Regions from separate parts of the Homo sapiens genome. Here all the other regions are linked to region 1. The links are contacts of gene promoters, found by promoter capture Hi-C in blood cells and fetal thymus (Javierre and others, 2016). All regions are on one chromosome and are shown on one strand. The core of a region is centred on a gene start or on the middle of the fragment in contact, and the rest is flanking DNA. Distances in the headings are between cores, read along the strand shown.

Region 1 (3,003 bases), core at 251-2,750:
GGAGGCAGAGGTTGCAGTGAGCTGAGATCACGCCACTGCACTCCAGCCTGGGCAACAGAACGAGACTCTGTCTCACCAAAAAAAAAAAAAAAAAAAAAAAAAAAAAAAAGATGTTCAAATAGACATGATATTGGTAAAAACGAAAACACAGGTAATGACTTTTCATTCTAATGAAATATAAATAGAGAAACCTGCCGGTTTTACCCTTTAGAGTAAAAAGGGTACAAAAAAATTACCAAAACAGTAAAAATTACCAAAAGAGTAATTTGATAATTTCTACAGGGTGATGTGTATGTGTCACAACTTTGTGAATCACTATTCTGGGCATGTATAAGAAGTCGTCATATACCTCCATTGGGAATGTTATTTAATGATGTCACTAATACCAGACAAGGATGTCTCCTCAGGTAAGGCTCCTTGGAGGAGGCAGAGGTTGAGAAGAGGTGTAATTTAGGTTTTAAAAATTCAATAGCTGGACTTAACCTTGCATATCTCTACCTGTTATAACGGTGGTCCGGAAGGCTGCGATCTGAAGGCCCCTCAGCTAGTTGCTGCCACTGTGGGCACTCTGCGCATCTTTCACTTCTGAGCTCTTTCTGTATGCACTCTGTTCTGCAGATAAGTGAGAATGTGACTATTTGCTTAGTCAGTGACAGTGTCTCTAACCCTGGAAAGGAAGCTTTTACTCTCTCAGTTTTAGAGACATGTGAACAGGCTGGGGATATGAGGTCACTTACCCACTGTCTTATAATCAGCAGATGGCATGGTTGGCATTGGAGTTTAGGTCTGTCTGTGCTTTTCTGTACATTACATCCTTTTTAATGATGCGAAGGAAAAATGCAGTAGGGTCAATGAGACAAATGGAATGCAGGTTGCTGGGGAAAGAATGCAGGTTCTGCGTTATAAATGCACACACATTTACTGTGCCACTTGGGTTCTGAACTTTGCGGTTAAATTGATTTAAAAACTGGTGTAGAGGTGGTAAAACTTAATCACCGAATGAGAATATTTGGGTTTGCTTCAGGAGGTCGCAAGCCACTTCTTGATTAGTAGAAATGGGAAATTAAGGGCCACCTTCAGGCGTTTAACTGAATTGTCCTGGGGATTTAATTTGCCTTTCGACTTAATGCTAAATTTTTGTTGTTTTTGGTTTTTAAAGTAATGTAAGTTTATCGCGCCAACGGTAAGATGTCGCTCTGGACGCGTGCACCTGCTCTCGCAATCACCGACTGCGGTCAGCATCTTCCTTAGAGCAGCGCCCCGGGCCACTTGGATCCCGGTCTCAATTTACTAAGCGAACCCAGAGGATGCCCCGAGTCCTGGACCGCAGAGCCGCTCGCGAGAGGCACCGGGGCTGTAACCGCGCAACCTCGTGCCGCGGGCGGAGGCGAGGGAGGATTCCCCGGCCGGTGCCCGCCCCCGGGCTAAAGTGCGGCGCGGGTGGGGCTGGTCACGCGCCTGGCTTCCTGCAGTGCGAACCTGGGAAATCCAGGCGACTTCGCAGTTGCCGAAGGGATCTGAAGAAGTGGGATGTGCAAAAGCGCCGGCTGGAAATCCCGGCTGTGTCTCCGTCAACTCTTTACGCAACAGAGGTCTCCCCCTGCCCTTGGTTTCTACCGGGCCGCCTGCTCCCACTCGGCGAAAAAAATTACACAACAGCAGCCGCGGCGATGACGTGGAGGGCTGCCGCCTCCACGTGCGCGGCGCTCCTGATTCTGCTGTGGGCGCTGACGACCGAAGGTAGGGGGCGGCTGGGGTGGGCTGGGGCGGGGGCTCCTGGCGCCAGAGGGTCCTCGCGGGTCGGCTCCCTAGCATCCCGCCAGGGGACCTCAACTTCCTGGGGGCTGAGAGCTCTATTTTCTTTTCTATTTCTTCTCCTTTTTTTTTTTTTTTTTTTTTGAGACGGAGTCTCGCTCTGTCTCCCAGGCTGGAGTGAAGTGGCGCGATCTCGGCTCACTGCAAGCTCCGCCTCCCAGGTTCACGCCATTCTCCTGCCTCAGACTCCCGAGTAGCTGGGACCACAGGCGCCCGCCACCATGCCCGGCTAATTTTTTGTACTTTTAGTAGAGACGGGGTTTCACAGTGTTAGCCAAGATGGTCTCCTTGACCTAGTGATCCAGCCGCCTCGGCCTCCCAAAGTGCGGGGATTACAGGCGTGAGCCCCCGCGCCCGGCCTGGGGGCTCTATTTTCAAGCGTCCCTCCTTTGTGAGAAGCGGAGTCCCCGATGCAACAGGTTTACATTGAAGGCCTGCCCTGTGCAGGGTCGACACCTGTGAGAGCGGAAACGGTGCTTCCTTGGATGTCGCGCGTTTGGTGCCTCGGTATTTGGCGCCTCTCTCGCATCATCCGAGGGGCCGGAGGAGAGAAGAAAATCAGGGAATCGGTAAATTGGAAAAATCATTCATCCGCATATCAGTGGGTCCTCCTGGCTTTGCTAAGTTAGGTCTTTACTGAGAGAGGGAGGGGAGTGTTTTGATCTTGTGGTGACCTTCAAACGTTCTCTTGCTTTTTTGGGAACTCGTATGGGCGTGTTCTGCGTTAACTTAAACAGGAGACTAAAAGGCTGAAACGCGTATGTAGAGATATTTAAACTCATTTCTAACTAGAAGAATGGCAATTAAACAACAAGATGCTGCTTGACCCTTACTAGGCTGGCCAAAATACGCTCCTGGGTGCCGGGTGGTGGAGGTGGAATGTAGGAATCCCGGAGGCGCGCTCTGGGCGCCCCGAGTCACTGCAGGTGGAGGAGAGCCGCGTGTGGACCTCACCGTGGAGACCTTGGCGGCAGCTTCACACCACGCCCTTGCTGCTTGCCGAGCAGCGTGAACGGATGTTGAAGGCGTAGAGCCAAGTAAACAGTGGACATACAATGCAATACCATTTCCACAGTTTGAGAAACAGAAGATACAGCCTTAAAGAGAACAAAAATTACATGTTAAACACCTTAGAATGGCTGCCCGATGGGAGAGGGAAGTGGAAATAAAAACGAGTGAATAGTATTT
Region 2 (3,003 bases), core at 166-2,665, 230 kb before region 1:
AAAACGACTTTTAATCTAAACAGAATGGGGATCCCTTAGCAAGTTCCCATAAAAAACTAGAGTGAAAGTATAAAGGGAGGTAATCTAGTAAAAAACTCACTTGTACAAACTGTGGAAGAAGATCTGTTAGCTCATCATCACTAATGGCCTCAATCCAGGTCACAGCTAGGGATCTTACTTCCTGATCAGCAAATCTAGAAGATTACCATAAAACCAAGATTGGACAGTGATTTCTTTCCAGTGAAGCTGTATTTTTTGAAAACACAATCTCAATCTGGTCCTGACAAAGAACACTAAGATATCTCTTTTATTCAAAAGCAATGTATTTCTTCTTTTTGTAAGAAGACAATCTTATTGTGCTATACAGATTCAATTTAGGGATTATTTAGGAATCTTAAGTTTATGAAAATTAATTCTGGCCCACATCATAAAAATATAAATTATTCAAAATTTACAACCTAACCCTTCCTTTAGGCTAGTTTTAAAGGACATGCAATGCTTTATTGACAACTTCAATGCAGAAGATATGTTTGTATAAATATACATTTACACATTTGGATTATATTGAATTGCTTTCATGTTAAAAGGAAAGGAAATACTTCTGGCAACATACCTTACTGGAAAAACTGACAATAAAACAAGAGCAAATAAATGTATTTGACTTACTTTGAATCAAGAAGTTCCAATGCAATTAGTGGGTACAATGCAGGCCACTGGTGAAGCAATGAGTAAGTTTTGGCAAGATTAACCCATTTCCAGTTTGGGGCGCTTGCTAATATTTTAGGAAGACAATTTGGGTGTTTGAAGCAATAATAACGTTTCTCCCATAAAAAAGCTTTATCTTCTTTAGAAAGTCTGCATATATAATAGAATTAAATTACTTCTCAGTGATAACATAATGATATAATCTCAATGATTAAAAATACAAAGAAGAAATTTATTTATTTGGGACAGCTACTTCTTCATAAAATCATTAATACTAATTTGGAATAGAAAAATGCAATGTATGGCAAATGCCAGTAATTAATGCTAATCCGGGAACTGAAAGGAATGATTATGTCTTGATAAAAGATGCTTAGTTAGGAAAATGAAGGATAATTCAGTATAATAAAAATTTATTGAGCTCTAACTAGATGCCAGGCACTAGAAATCAGAGTTGAAAAAGCAGATCCCACCCTAAGAGATAGCAAGGATTTCATCCATTTCGTACAAATAAAATCAAATGCTATGAAAAAAAAAATACTACTATAAAATTTTGGAACATATTTATACAGTTCAAATGAAAAGGACTTGTTTTGAAGATCCTAATTGTTTTAAGCTTAATCACAAATGTTTACGTGAATGAAATATTTCACCATTTTACTATCCATCCATATATATATAAATATATATATACATATACATGCACTGAAATTTATTCATTTCATGTGGAGTAATGAAAAAATTCAAACACTGCAAAAGGTATACAGTGAAATCTCTCTCCTTCTAATTCCCCTTCTAAGAGGCAACCACCTAAGCTTGTATGCTCTTCTAGAGAGTTTATTCATACAGAGGCACACACACGGATATATGTAGATCCTCTTTTTTCCTTTATTTTCGTGGTAATACACTATATACACTATTCTACTCCTGGTTTTCTTCAGCTAACCTATTTTAAAAATTAGTACATACAGCTATAATCTCATTTTTATTTATTTTATTTTTGTTTGAGATGGAGTCTCGCTCTGTCACCCAGGCTGGAATGCAGTGGCACGATCTTGGCTCACTGCAACCTCCGCCTCCCAGGTTCAAGCGATTCTCCTGCCTCAGCCTCCCAAGTAGCTGGGATTACAGGCATGTGCCACCATCTCAGCCTCCCAAAGTGCTGAGATTACAGGTGTGAGCCACCACGTTCAGCCTACAATCTCATTTTTAATAGTTACATGGTTCTCTACCAGATAAATGTACCTTAATTTAATCCCTATTGATGGACATTTCCAATCAATTTTTCTTTTCTTTTCTTTTCTTTTCTTTTTTGAGACAGGGTATTGCTCTGTTGCCCAGGCTGCAGTGCAGTGATGAGATCATAGATCACTGCAGCCTTGACCTCCTGGGCTCAAGCAATTCTCCCACCTCAGCCTCCTGAGTCGCTAGGACTACAGATGCACAACACTGTGCCTGGCTACTTTTAATTTTTTTGTAGAGACAGGGTCTCACTATATTGTCAGTGTTGGTCTCCAACTCCTGGGCTCAAGCAATCCTCCCACCTCAGCCTTCCAAAGTGTCAAGAGTACAGGCATGAGCCACCACGCCCAGTCTCCGAACAGTTTTTCAATAATCCAAATAAGTACTGCAATGAATATTCTTGACTCCATAAGCAAATATAAAAGAGTTTTATATAACTGCAAATGGCACTGCTGGGACAGAATATACACATTATAACCTTGTAGATTTTGCCAAATTGCTCTCCAAAGGAGACATAGCTTTTTATACTTCTGCAAATAGTATAATTCCCATTTTATGTATCCTTATCAACACTTTTCACAAGGTATTTTAATTTTTGCCACTCTGATGTGTTAGATGGTATCTTGAATTAATTTATATTTCCCTGATTACTGAGAAATTGAACATCTTTTCAGATTGTTTAAAAGTATTGTATTTTTCTAAAAAAATTGCTTGTTCCTACTTAGTCTCCTTGACTACTGAGTTCTTGGTCTTAATCTTATTAATAAGAAAAAGTTCCTTACGGTTAAAAAAATCTCTTGATATGTATTGTAAATATAGTTTCCAGTCTATTGTTTGCCTTTTAAGTAAAAAGGTTTGACTTGACAAATTTCTAAAATTTTATGCAGTTATGTAGTCTTTTTATATAATTTTAAAAATAACTTAAATACTAGCTGGCCCTCGAGACAAAAGTTTTGTAGATTATTAAAAAAAAAAAAAAGGAAAAAAAGTAAGTTAAATAGAAAACTTTCCACACCAAGAAAGCTGATAAATCATGAACAGAATCAGGTTATTTAATGT
Region 3 (3,003 bases), core at 274-2,773, 200 kb before region 1:
ATCACCTGAGGTCAGGAGTTCAAGACCAGCTTGGCCAATGTAGTGAAACCTCGTTTCTACTAAAAATACAAAAAAAATTAGCTGAGCATGGTGGCACATGCCTACAGTCCTAGCTACTAAGGAGGCTGAGGCAGGAGAATCGCTTGAACCTGGAAGGCAAAGGTTGCAGTGAACTGAGATCGCACCACTGCATTCCACCCTGGGCAACAAGAGTGAAAACTCCATTTCAAAAAAAAAAAAAAAGAACCTTTTCAGCACCTGTAACTAGTAGATATAGCAAGCTTTGTCAATTATGATAGGTGTAAAAGGAAAGAAATAGGACAAAAAACTCAGTAATAATGAAAAGTAGTCCTGAATCAATGTATTACAGAATCTTAAACTGAAAGAGATCTTTGAAATCACTAGTCCAACTCTTTAATTTCACAGATGAGAAACAACAACAAAAACCAATACCTAGAACTGGTAATAAATTCCAAGTCTGTTTTGTATTTTATCTTAACTATAAACAAATATCATTCTGACAGCCTGACACTAATTTCACAGCTGAATTTAAATGAATAAATGAATAATTTTAGGAGATCTCAAAAAGCAAAGAACTGGCTCTCTAATTAAAAGCCTACATACTTGTTTTAAAAATCCACTGCAAAATGAGCACAATGGAAAAAACAGAGCCACTAATTTCAAAGTACATCTCCTCATCTCAATCTCCATGGTCACCACAGGGGAAGTTCCTAGAACATGCCTTCAAAAACACCAGTACTTCTTACTGCTCTAGTATTTGTTGCAGTCATAGTCTACTAATGAAAATAAAATTACAAAGAGAACTCATTCTCTCTTTAGTCCATTTGCAGTTTCGTATCACATTTAAGTGTGTGCGTGTGTGTGTGTGTGTAAACAAAAACAATCATTTTCAATTAGTGGCAGAGTTTGTATAAATAGCTCTAAGATTCAAATGGGAGAAAAAAGGTAGGTCTCAGAGAGCCTAACTTCTCAACTTGCAAAGCTTAAATGTAGTAGTTACTTAACATGGCCTAACAGGAAAATACAAGGCCTGTCTGGGGAGAGTAACCTTTGCCAAGAAAAAGTGACTCTACTGATAATATTTTTTTCCTAAGGTATTCTGAAGAAAAGAAATGCTGGTTAAAAGGTAACATAAAGGAAGACAGAGTTTTAATAAAATATCACCAATGGTCCAGAAAATCTCATTAAATATTAAGTTCTTTAACATTAAAATAATGTACATACTCAAAAATGTTCTGGGAACCCCAAATCCTGCTATGCTTAAAGCAGACCACACTGAAGACAATGCTGGATTCAGAAAAAAATCTCCCAGTGGTGATCTACTTCCCTTTTTTAGATAACAGATCTCTCATCCTCTTGGCCACAAGGACTGTTGTTCCACTCTTTCCTCCTATGGGTGTTTCCTATCTGGCTAGCTAAGGGGACTCCTTTTTCTTCTCTGCTACTGAGACCATTAAATTGCATGGAGGAAAGGCAGAGGAAGAAAAGTGAGGAAGGTGAAGGAAAGGAAATGGAGTGGACAAGGAGAATTGAAGGAAGGGGGGATGATTTATAGTAATGAATTCCTGAATCTTGCTGTTAATGAACTCTATCCCATCCTTCCTCTATCTGCTATTTGGGTTGTGAACCAATACATGACCCTTTTTAAGTTCAAGATGGGTTTCTAGCACTCGTAACAGAAGTCACAACTAATATAGTGATATAATGGGAAGAAAACATGCTTAACCAGAAGCAAAAGAGAGTTGGTTCTACTACTGATATTACTGACTAGCCAAGTAAAGTTTGTTAGGTTACTTCTCTGAGTCTCAGTTTCCTCACCTATAATGAATGTTAGACACATTTAAGATTGAGAGAACATTCTATAAATGTGTTTTTCTAAACTTCAGAAAATATATTTGCTCTTCTAAACTTGCCTATTATAATATCATCTCTTAAATATGTTGAACAGTATTTTGAATGCTAGAAAGTTTACAGCAAAATTAAGTCTCTCTAAAACAAAAGTAGGTATTTTTTAAGTGTACTGAAGCTTACAGGTAAGTCATATTTTTCACTGGTTATTACAGTATCAGAAGTCTACTGTCTGACCTCAATTTTTTCTTCCAAATATTAAGAAATCTAACAGGTGAAGATACAAGTTCAACTGTGGTTTGTGATAACGTGCCAATTAACTCTTTGACTTGAAATGTTAGCCACAAGAAGAAAATAATTAAAATTTTTAAAATTTTAGAATTATTAGCACTAAACTGGTTTTCAAGTGAATTTTTCAAATGAACATTTATAAAGAAAAATTCCTTACTTTGTAATGGATCGACAAAAAGCTGCCATCTCCTCATTCTGTACTTCAACTTCTTGAAGAAGAGAACTTCCAGTTGGCAAACTACTGGTCCCATTTGGGTCTTTCTGTAATTAAAAAAGTGTTTTTATTTTAAAAGTGGAAGATCCACAAAATGCTACATAGCAGCACAGCACAAACACATTTTTATGAAAATATGTACAAAGCAATGGAGGTAAAATAAATCATATCAATAACAAATTTTTAAATTATATATTTCTATCTTTGTAAAAGTAATGTCAACTAAGCCTTATTTTCGTTCCTTGGTTTTACTTGCTCAATAGTAGAAACAGGCTATACCGGTCAGTAAGAATGGAATGCTAAAGACCTTTCCATTCAAAATATTCCTAAAATAGACACTTTAGAAATTTTACAACTAAATGAAATTAAAGGACTCTCTGTTTTAAGAATATGAAGAGATCAAGCCCATTTGGGACTCTTCTAATCAGCCAGAAATTCTATATATTCAACTAGGACCCAAATCCCAAGAAAGATGGTTTTTTATGTAAGAGAATGGGCATTTTCTAGGTTAATAAACTTATACTAACATCCTCACAATCCCTAAAAAGCTAAGTTTACGTCTGGTCAAAAACTGTTTACAGCTTTCAGGGAGATCAATTCACCACCCAAGCATAGCCAAACAGCAGAGT
Region 4 (3,003 bases), core at 358-2,857, 180 kb before region 1:
TTTTACTAAGGAGGTCATGAAGAAAGAGGAATTCAAAGAATGTCCTTGGAATGTTCTTAGTGTATTATTTTGCAATTCCTTCATACAACTATTTTCCCTTCTGTGGTAGACTACAAAGCATGGGCACAATGTATATTTAAAATATACACACTTTACTGTATGTAAACTTTATATCAAAAGAAAAAGCTGTAAATATGGAACTCTTGCTACATATGCACAAAGCACTTAGAGGAAAGTACTAATGTCTACAATTTACTTTGTTGTTCTTGTCGTTTAGAGATGGGGGAGGTCTCATTATGTTACCCAGGCTGGTCTTGAACTCCTGGCCTCAAGCAAGCCTCCTGCCTCAGCTGGGATTACAGGCATGATCCACTGTGCCTGGCTCTTACAATTTACTTTGAAATGCATTTTTTTTAAAAGGTAAACTAATGGATAGCAGGATAGATGGATAAATATGTGATTAGACAGGTATAGAAAAATGTTAATAGTAGAATCTAGGTGATACAAATATGAGTATTCACTTTGAAATTCTTTTAACTTGGTTGCCAAGACTGAAAATTTTCAAAATAAAAGGCTGGATAGTAGGGAATAGGAGGAGCACAAATTCCTCCCATTTCAACACATACTCCCACTACTTGGGATGTGATTTTCTTGTTCCTCTCATAAAGAGGAGGGATCTATTTCTTTACTCTCTTGAGCTAAGCGGGCCTTATGACTTGGCTTTTACCAATGAAATGGAAGTGACACTGTGGGAATAGGAGTTCCAAATCTAGGTCCTAAGAGGCTTTACTACCTCAGTTCTTTGTCTCTTGAAATGCAGCCACTGCTATGTGAATGCTCACTGAGGATGAGAGGGGCCAGCTAACAGCCAGCACCAACCACCAAACATGTGAGTGAAGCCACCATCTTAGACCATCCATCCACACTCCAGATGACCACAACTCCATGAGTGACTGAAGGTGAGACCAGCAGAAGAAATCACCAAGCTGAGCTAAAGCCAAATTGATAACCCACAGAATCATTTTGGAATGATTCTGTTACATAGCAATAGATAACTGATAAACTTTTTCTTATTAGTTTTAGAAAACAAAGCGCAAGCCATTTTTACTATTTAGCAACAAACTTCTGTTTTAACTTCCACCACCACCTTCCTTCACTTATCCTCAGGGAACAAACGGTTTTCTTTTCCTTTCTAAGGCGACTTCCTCCATGTGTATCCTTAACCTTAGATTTCTAAACATAAATGTATTTTCCCCTCCACTTCATCATCAATGATTACCCTCCACTTCATCATCGGTGATTACCTCCTTTGCATTGTTAACTTATTTACTTGCTTAGGGTCCTGTGCCACAAAAAAGCTTAAGTCTTCTCCATATTGAAGGGGGGGAAATCTTAACATTCCCGTTTAGATTCCAGTAGCTTCCATTTTAATTTTCTTTTTTCACTGTCAAACTTCTCCAATGAGGGACCTACAGAATCTTTTCTTTACACATTCTGCCTTGGAAAAACTCTACTTGTCCTTCAGGGCCCAATTCAAATACTGTCTCCTCTCTTTAGCCTTCCCTAAGCAGCTCTTATCAGAATTCATCTTTTTAGATCAACCAAAACATTTTTATCACAGCTTTCTCTTCTTCACTTCTGTAGACCTTTTGCTGTTTTTGCCTATCAACATCTTTGCTTCTGGTTGCAGAACCTACGGCTTCCATTTTGGAGACTGATCTCCCTTTATCCCACATAGTTAATTAAAATAGAACTGGCCATTTCTACCCTTGTCCCCCATTCCCATCCACTCCAGAGGATCCAAATATGGCCCATCAGAGTTAACTCCTGGACTTCTGCTGAAACTATTTGGAAAGAAAGCTTTTCTTTGAGCTTACTAAACTCAGATATAAGCCTGGCCCTGCTGTGGCCGTCTTTGTCACCACTTGAGGAGATAATGCCTAAAAATGAATCCAATCCAGAAGAAAGCAGAGCTAAGATAAAACGAAGAAAGACAGATTCTGGCTAATATTACACTGGCATCTGGATCCAACTAAGCCCAAAGCCAACCTTTCATTTATGCAGGCCAGTAAGTCTCCCTTTTTGCTTAAGCCAGTTTAAAATGAGTTTCTGCCATAACAAAAAATGTCCTGATTAACACAGAATCTGTGAACCTATGTGTCTACCCAACAGACTAAAATAAGCTTAAGTGCAAAGGCCTACTTGTTTATTTTTGGAGTTCCCCACAACATTTAAAAGTACCTTGCTTAATGAATAAGAAACTTAATTTACTGAACACGTGGGGTTTGTTTGTTTGTTTGTTTGTTTAGACAGAGTCTCATTCTGTTGCTCAGACTGGAGTGCAGTGGCACAGTCTCGGCTCACTGCAACCTCTGCCTCCTGGGTTCAAGCGATTCTCCTGCCTCAGCCTCCCGAGTAGCTGGGATTACAGGCGCTCGCCACCACACCCGGCTAATTTTTGTATTTTTAGTAGAGACCAAAAAGTTTAGTAGAGACTAATAGCGTTTTGCCATGTTGGCCAGGCTGGTCTTGAACTCCTGACCTCAAGTGATCCACCTGCCTCGGCCTCCCAAAGTGCTGGGATTACAGGCGTGAACCACCTCACCTGGCTGAACATGTGTTTTAACAAGAGGGAGTGAGGGCTATTGGACAGTCTTAAAGAAGGCATTTCTAATGGCACAAGAGTATGGATATATGGTAGGAAAAATAAATCAAGTGTAATCACCTATTGTGGAACACCAAAGTATACTGCCTATTTTTCACAAAATTAGATGTATTAAAACAAAACAGCGGCCGGGCGCGGTGGCTCACGCCTGTAATCCCAGCACTTTGGGAGGCCGAGGCGGGCGGATCACGAGGTCAGGAGATCGAGACCATCCTGGCTAAAACGGTGAAACCCCGTCTCTACTAAAAAAAAAAATACAAAAAAATTAGCCGGGCGTAGTGGCGGGCGCCTGTAGTCCCAGCTACTTGGGAGGCTGAGGCAGGAGAATGGCGTGAACC
Region 5 (3,003 bases), core at 165-2,664, 160 kb after region 1:
ATCAGGGTTCTAGAGGATTTGGGGAGGGACATGAAAGGCAAATAGACTCCTTATTTTTCCTGTAGGAATTAGACCCACCGAGCCTGCATTCCTGGCTGCTTCTCTCATGGGGTTGCAGGGAAGCCAGGGGCTAAGGCAGGAAGAGAATGATCATTTATGAACTGCCTATGTGCCAAGGGATTTATACCAATGATCTCCTATGTAGGTTTATCCTCATTCTTTGATGAAGGAGCTGAGGCTCAGAGAGGTAAAGTCCCTTGTTCAATGTCAGACATCTTGTAACTGATAGTACCAGGATTTGGACCTGAGTCTTCGAGGTCCTAGTTTTTCTATGGTGCCCTGATGAGCTGGGGGCAAGGGAAACACGGCAGGAGGGAGGGTCAGCCCCTATCACACACAGCGTGGAGGACAGAGCGAGCATTCAGGAGAGGGGCAGCAGAGACAGCCCACACCCTGGGCAATTTCTGGGGCAAGGAGGAAACCCCCTGTTCACTGAGCTCACCCCCGCCCCCAACAAGCCTTCTGGGGATCTGCTCTTGAATTTTCTGAATCATCTTAGTATCCAAGGCCAGGAATAAGGAATTGAGCTCCCTAGCAATGGACACACAACATTCATCCACAGCTGGAGGGACTTGGTGGGCCATTATGGACCTCTGAGGGACTCTTCCTAGCTCCTCTCCTAAAGACACACACCTCTGTGTACTGCTAATGTGCTCTGGAAATGGTCACCTCTGGGACCCACCTCCAGAGCAGTGTATGAGCCTCTCGAGAAAATGGTTCTCACTGCTTCAGAGTCCTGCTTGGTTCCTTGCCTACCTTGTTCACTAGACTCAGTTGATAGATGAATCCCTGCCATCGTAGTAGAGATTCAGACAGCAATTTCCCAAGAGGAGCCAGAAACACTGCCTAATGGTAGCTTGCTAGAGTAAGAGCCTGGCCTCCTCCAGGACCACCACGAGAATAATGGCCATTCTGTTGCTTAAAAAAAGAAAGAAAGAAAGAAAAAAAAAACTACCAGTGCTAAGATTATAGAGTCAGGGCTTCTGGGTGGGGTAGTAGACAGTTTCTGTCTCATGCCCAAGAAAGTCATATCTGTACAGATGCAGAGGGCAAGTTGCCCCATGGCATTTCCCACTGATCTCAGACTGGCCCCACACAGGTTACTTAGCTGTGTGTGAATCTGCCTTCCCTGCCAGACGGTGGGCTCCTGCAAGTAGGGCTGGTCTGTGTGAGTGACTCAAGCAATTCTGATGAAAGGGCTTAGTCAGAATCATGAATCCTTCATGCCCTGGCACAAATTCTGTGGGGCCAAAGGCCTGGGAACCTTGAGCCCCAGAGGGATTTACTGCCAAGGTGGAAATAGAAGACACTGAATCTTTATATTATTATTATTATTTTCTTGAGACAGGGTCCTGCTCTGTCACCCAGGCTGGAGTGCAGTGGTGCAATCTCGGCTCACTGCAGCCTCTGCCTCTAGGGTTCAAGTGATTCTCCTGCCTCAGCCTCCCAAGTAGCTGGGATTACAGGCATGCGCCACCACACCCAGCTAATTTTTGAATTTTTAATAGAGACAGGGTTTCACCCTGTTGGCCAGGCTGGTCTTGAACTCCCAACCTCACGTGATTCGCCTGTCTTGGCCTCCCACAGTGCTGGCATTATAGACATGAGCTGAATCTTTATATTTTTAAATAAGGGGAATTTATGCACAGATATCATGGCCATGGATACCCACTTGCATTTCCTGGAGACTTGGCGTTCCAGCTGCTGGGAGACAAAGAGTCTCTCACGGCTCTAGAAAAAATGATGACGGGTTTTCAGAGCCAGTATGAGGGGCATGGTTCTGTTGTCCTTTCAGCTGTCAGTTACATCCATGGCCTGTCAGTTACAATATTCCTTTTGGTCCAGACTGAGAGGTGAGGCAGATGGGGCGATTGTGCTATTGATTCTACCCAGAAGCAATTCTTTTTTTTTTTTTTTTTTTGAAGTGAAAATGAAAACCAAAATGACAGCTGTTTCTGGAATAATTAGATTAAGGAATAGGGGAAAGGCAACCCTATTTCTTTATCAACAGCACTTTCAAGGACATGATTTCTGATGGGAGGTGGTATGTGGAGAAGATTCTAGTTCTTTTACATTTACATGTTATTAGTGCCTGAAAAAGATTTGACATATCTGTCTCCTTTATTATTTTTTTCAAGTAAAATCCTATGTGTGCATGTGTGTGTGTGCTTGTGTGTGTGTGTGTGTGTTTTGTCCTCTCTAGCTGAGTTCTAGTAGAGGCAGAATATAGAGAAGAATTAGAAATCTAACCCAATGAGGCATCCTAAGCCACCAAAGTCAGCCTGTCAAGGGAAACAGATAGTCTTATGAGACCAAGGCCTTTCTGAGACCAGGACAATGTGTGAAGGAATTCCCAGAGGAACTCTGTTCCAAGTTTATTCAATGCTATACAAATCCTGATAGATGTTCCTAGATAAAGGCATTAACCTCTGTCAGGAAAAATATTACTGTTTGTTATTTTAATAGCAATGTGCTGGAGGAAGGGGGTAGATTTTCCTGGCACAGTTAATATTCCCATTTTACAGGCAGGGAGAATTATATATCATCAAGGTCACTCAGCTGCCAGTGCTCTGGTTTCTGGGGGACTGACATCTTGCCAGAAAGCGCTGGTCAAGTGATAACATCCAATTTAGCTCACCCAGATTTATGCTGCTGCCTGACCTCCAAATACCAAGTCATCTCGAATGTCCAATTATAGATATTAACAGCAATGTTTTCACAATCAAATGTCAATGTGATTTAGAAAGATAAGGACAAGAGAGTTTTACAAGGCCTGGAGATATTGTAATAAGATTTAGAGAGAAAATTAAAGGTCCTAGAAATTGGAAAAATGCATTATCCTGGGCACATGCAGAGATATTCCTAGGAGAGGGCTGTGCTTGGAGTGGGTCTCTGTCCCAACCTGAGGCAGCAAATCCCCACCTCGTCAGCCAGGCTGCGTCT

Evidence for each region. The method cuts DNA at HindIII sites, captures the fragments that hold promoters and counts their contacts. A CHiCAGO score of 5 or more calls a contact.
Region 2: a fragment that was not itself captured here is called in contact with the fragment with the promoter of NCR3LG1 in region 1 in 1 of 17 cell types (naive CD4 T cells); the score reaches 5.3 in naive CD4 T cells.
Region 3: a contact is called between a fragment that was not itself captured here and the fragment with the promoter of NCR3LG1 in region 1, in 1 of 17 cell types (total CD8 T cells). The highest score is 6.8, in total CD8 T cells.
Region 4: a contact is called between a fragment that was not itself captured here and the fragment with the promoter of NCR3LG1 in region 1, in 1 of 17 cell types (naive CD8 T cells). The highest score is 5.6, in naive CD8 T cells.
Region 5: a contact is called between a fragment that was not itself captured here and the fragment with the promoter of NCR3LG1 in region 1, in 1 of 17 cell types (M2 macrophages). The highest score is 5.7, in M2 macrophages.

The regions. Positions count from the first base shown.
Region 1 is chr11:17,350,300-17,353,302 of GRCh38, forward strand. NCR3LG1 (natural killer cell cytotoxicity receptor 3 ligand 1) reads left to right here and starts at 1,501. Exons shown (of 5, transcript NM_001202439.3): 1 at 1,501-1,740. The coding sequence starts at 1,671. LOC105376576 (a long non-coding RNA gene) reads right to left here and starts at 1,567. Exons shown (of 3, transcript XR_931094.3): 1 at 1,480-1,567; 2 at 738-875; 3 at 514-612. RefSeq lists a silencer at 1,323-1,442 and enhancers at 1,439-2,040, 2,041-2,642, 2,867-2,916. The HindIII fragment of the contact is 2,891 bases long and covers 678-3,003 here.
Region 2 is chr11:17,119,120-17,122,122 of GRCh38, forward strand. It overlaps PIK3C2A (phosphatidylinositol-4-phosphate 3-kinase catalytic subunit type 2 alpha), which reads right to left. Exons shown (of 33, transcript NM_002645.4): 16 at 667-855; 17 at 101-194. Among named protein-coding and RNA genes, the nearest start is that of RPS13, 43 kb to the left of the region's middle. The HindIII fragment of the contact is 199 bases long and covers 1,317-1,515 here.
Region 3 is chr11:17,153,209-17,156,211 of GRCh38, forward strand. PIK3C2A (phosphatidylinositol-4-phosphate 3-kinase catalytic subunit type 2 alpha) reads right to left here. Exons shown (of 33, transcript NM_002645.4): 3 at 2,318-2,421. Among named protein-coding and RNA genes, the nearest start is that of PIK3C2A, 53 kb to the right of the region's middle. The HindIII fragment of the contact is 1,044 bases long and covers 1,002-2,045 here.
Region 4 is chr11:17,171,515-17,174,517 of GRCh38, forward strand. The region is part of intron 1 of PIK3C2A (phosphatidylinositol-4-phosphate 3-kinase catalytic subunit type 2 alpha); the gene reads right to left. Among named protein-coding and RNA genes, the nearest start is that of PIK3C2A, 35 kb to the right of the region's middle. The HindIII fragment of the contact is 502 bases long and covers 1,357-1,858 here.
Region 5 is chr11:17,512,836-17,515,838 of GRCh38, forward strand. All of the region lies in intron 15 of USH1C (USH1 protein network component harmonin), which reads right to left. Among named protein-coding and RNA genes, the nearest start is that of USH1C, 30 kb to the right of the region's middle. The HindIII fragment of the contact is 3,309 bases long and covers 1-3,003 here.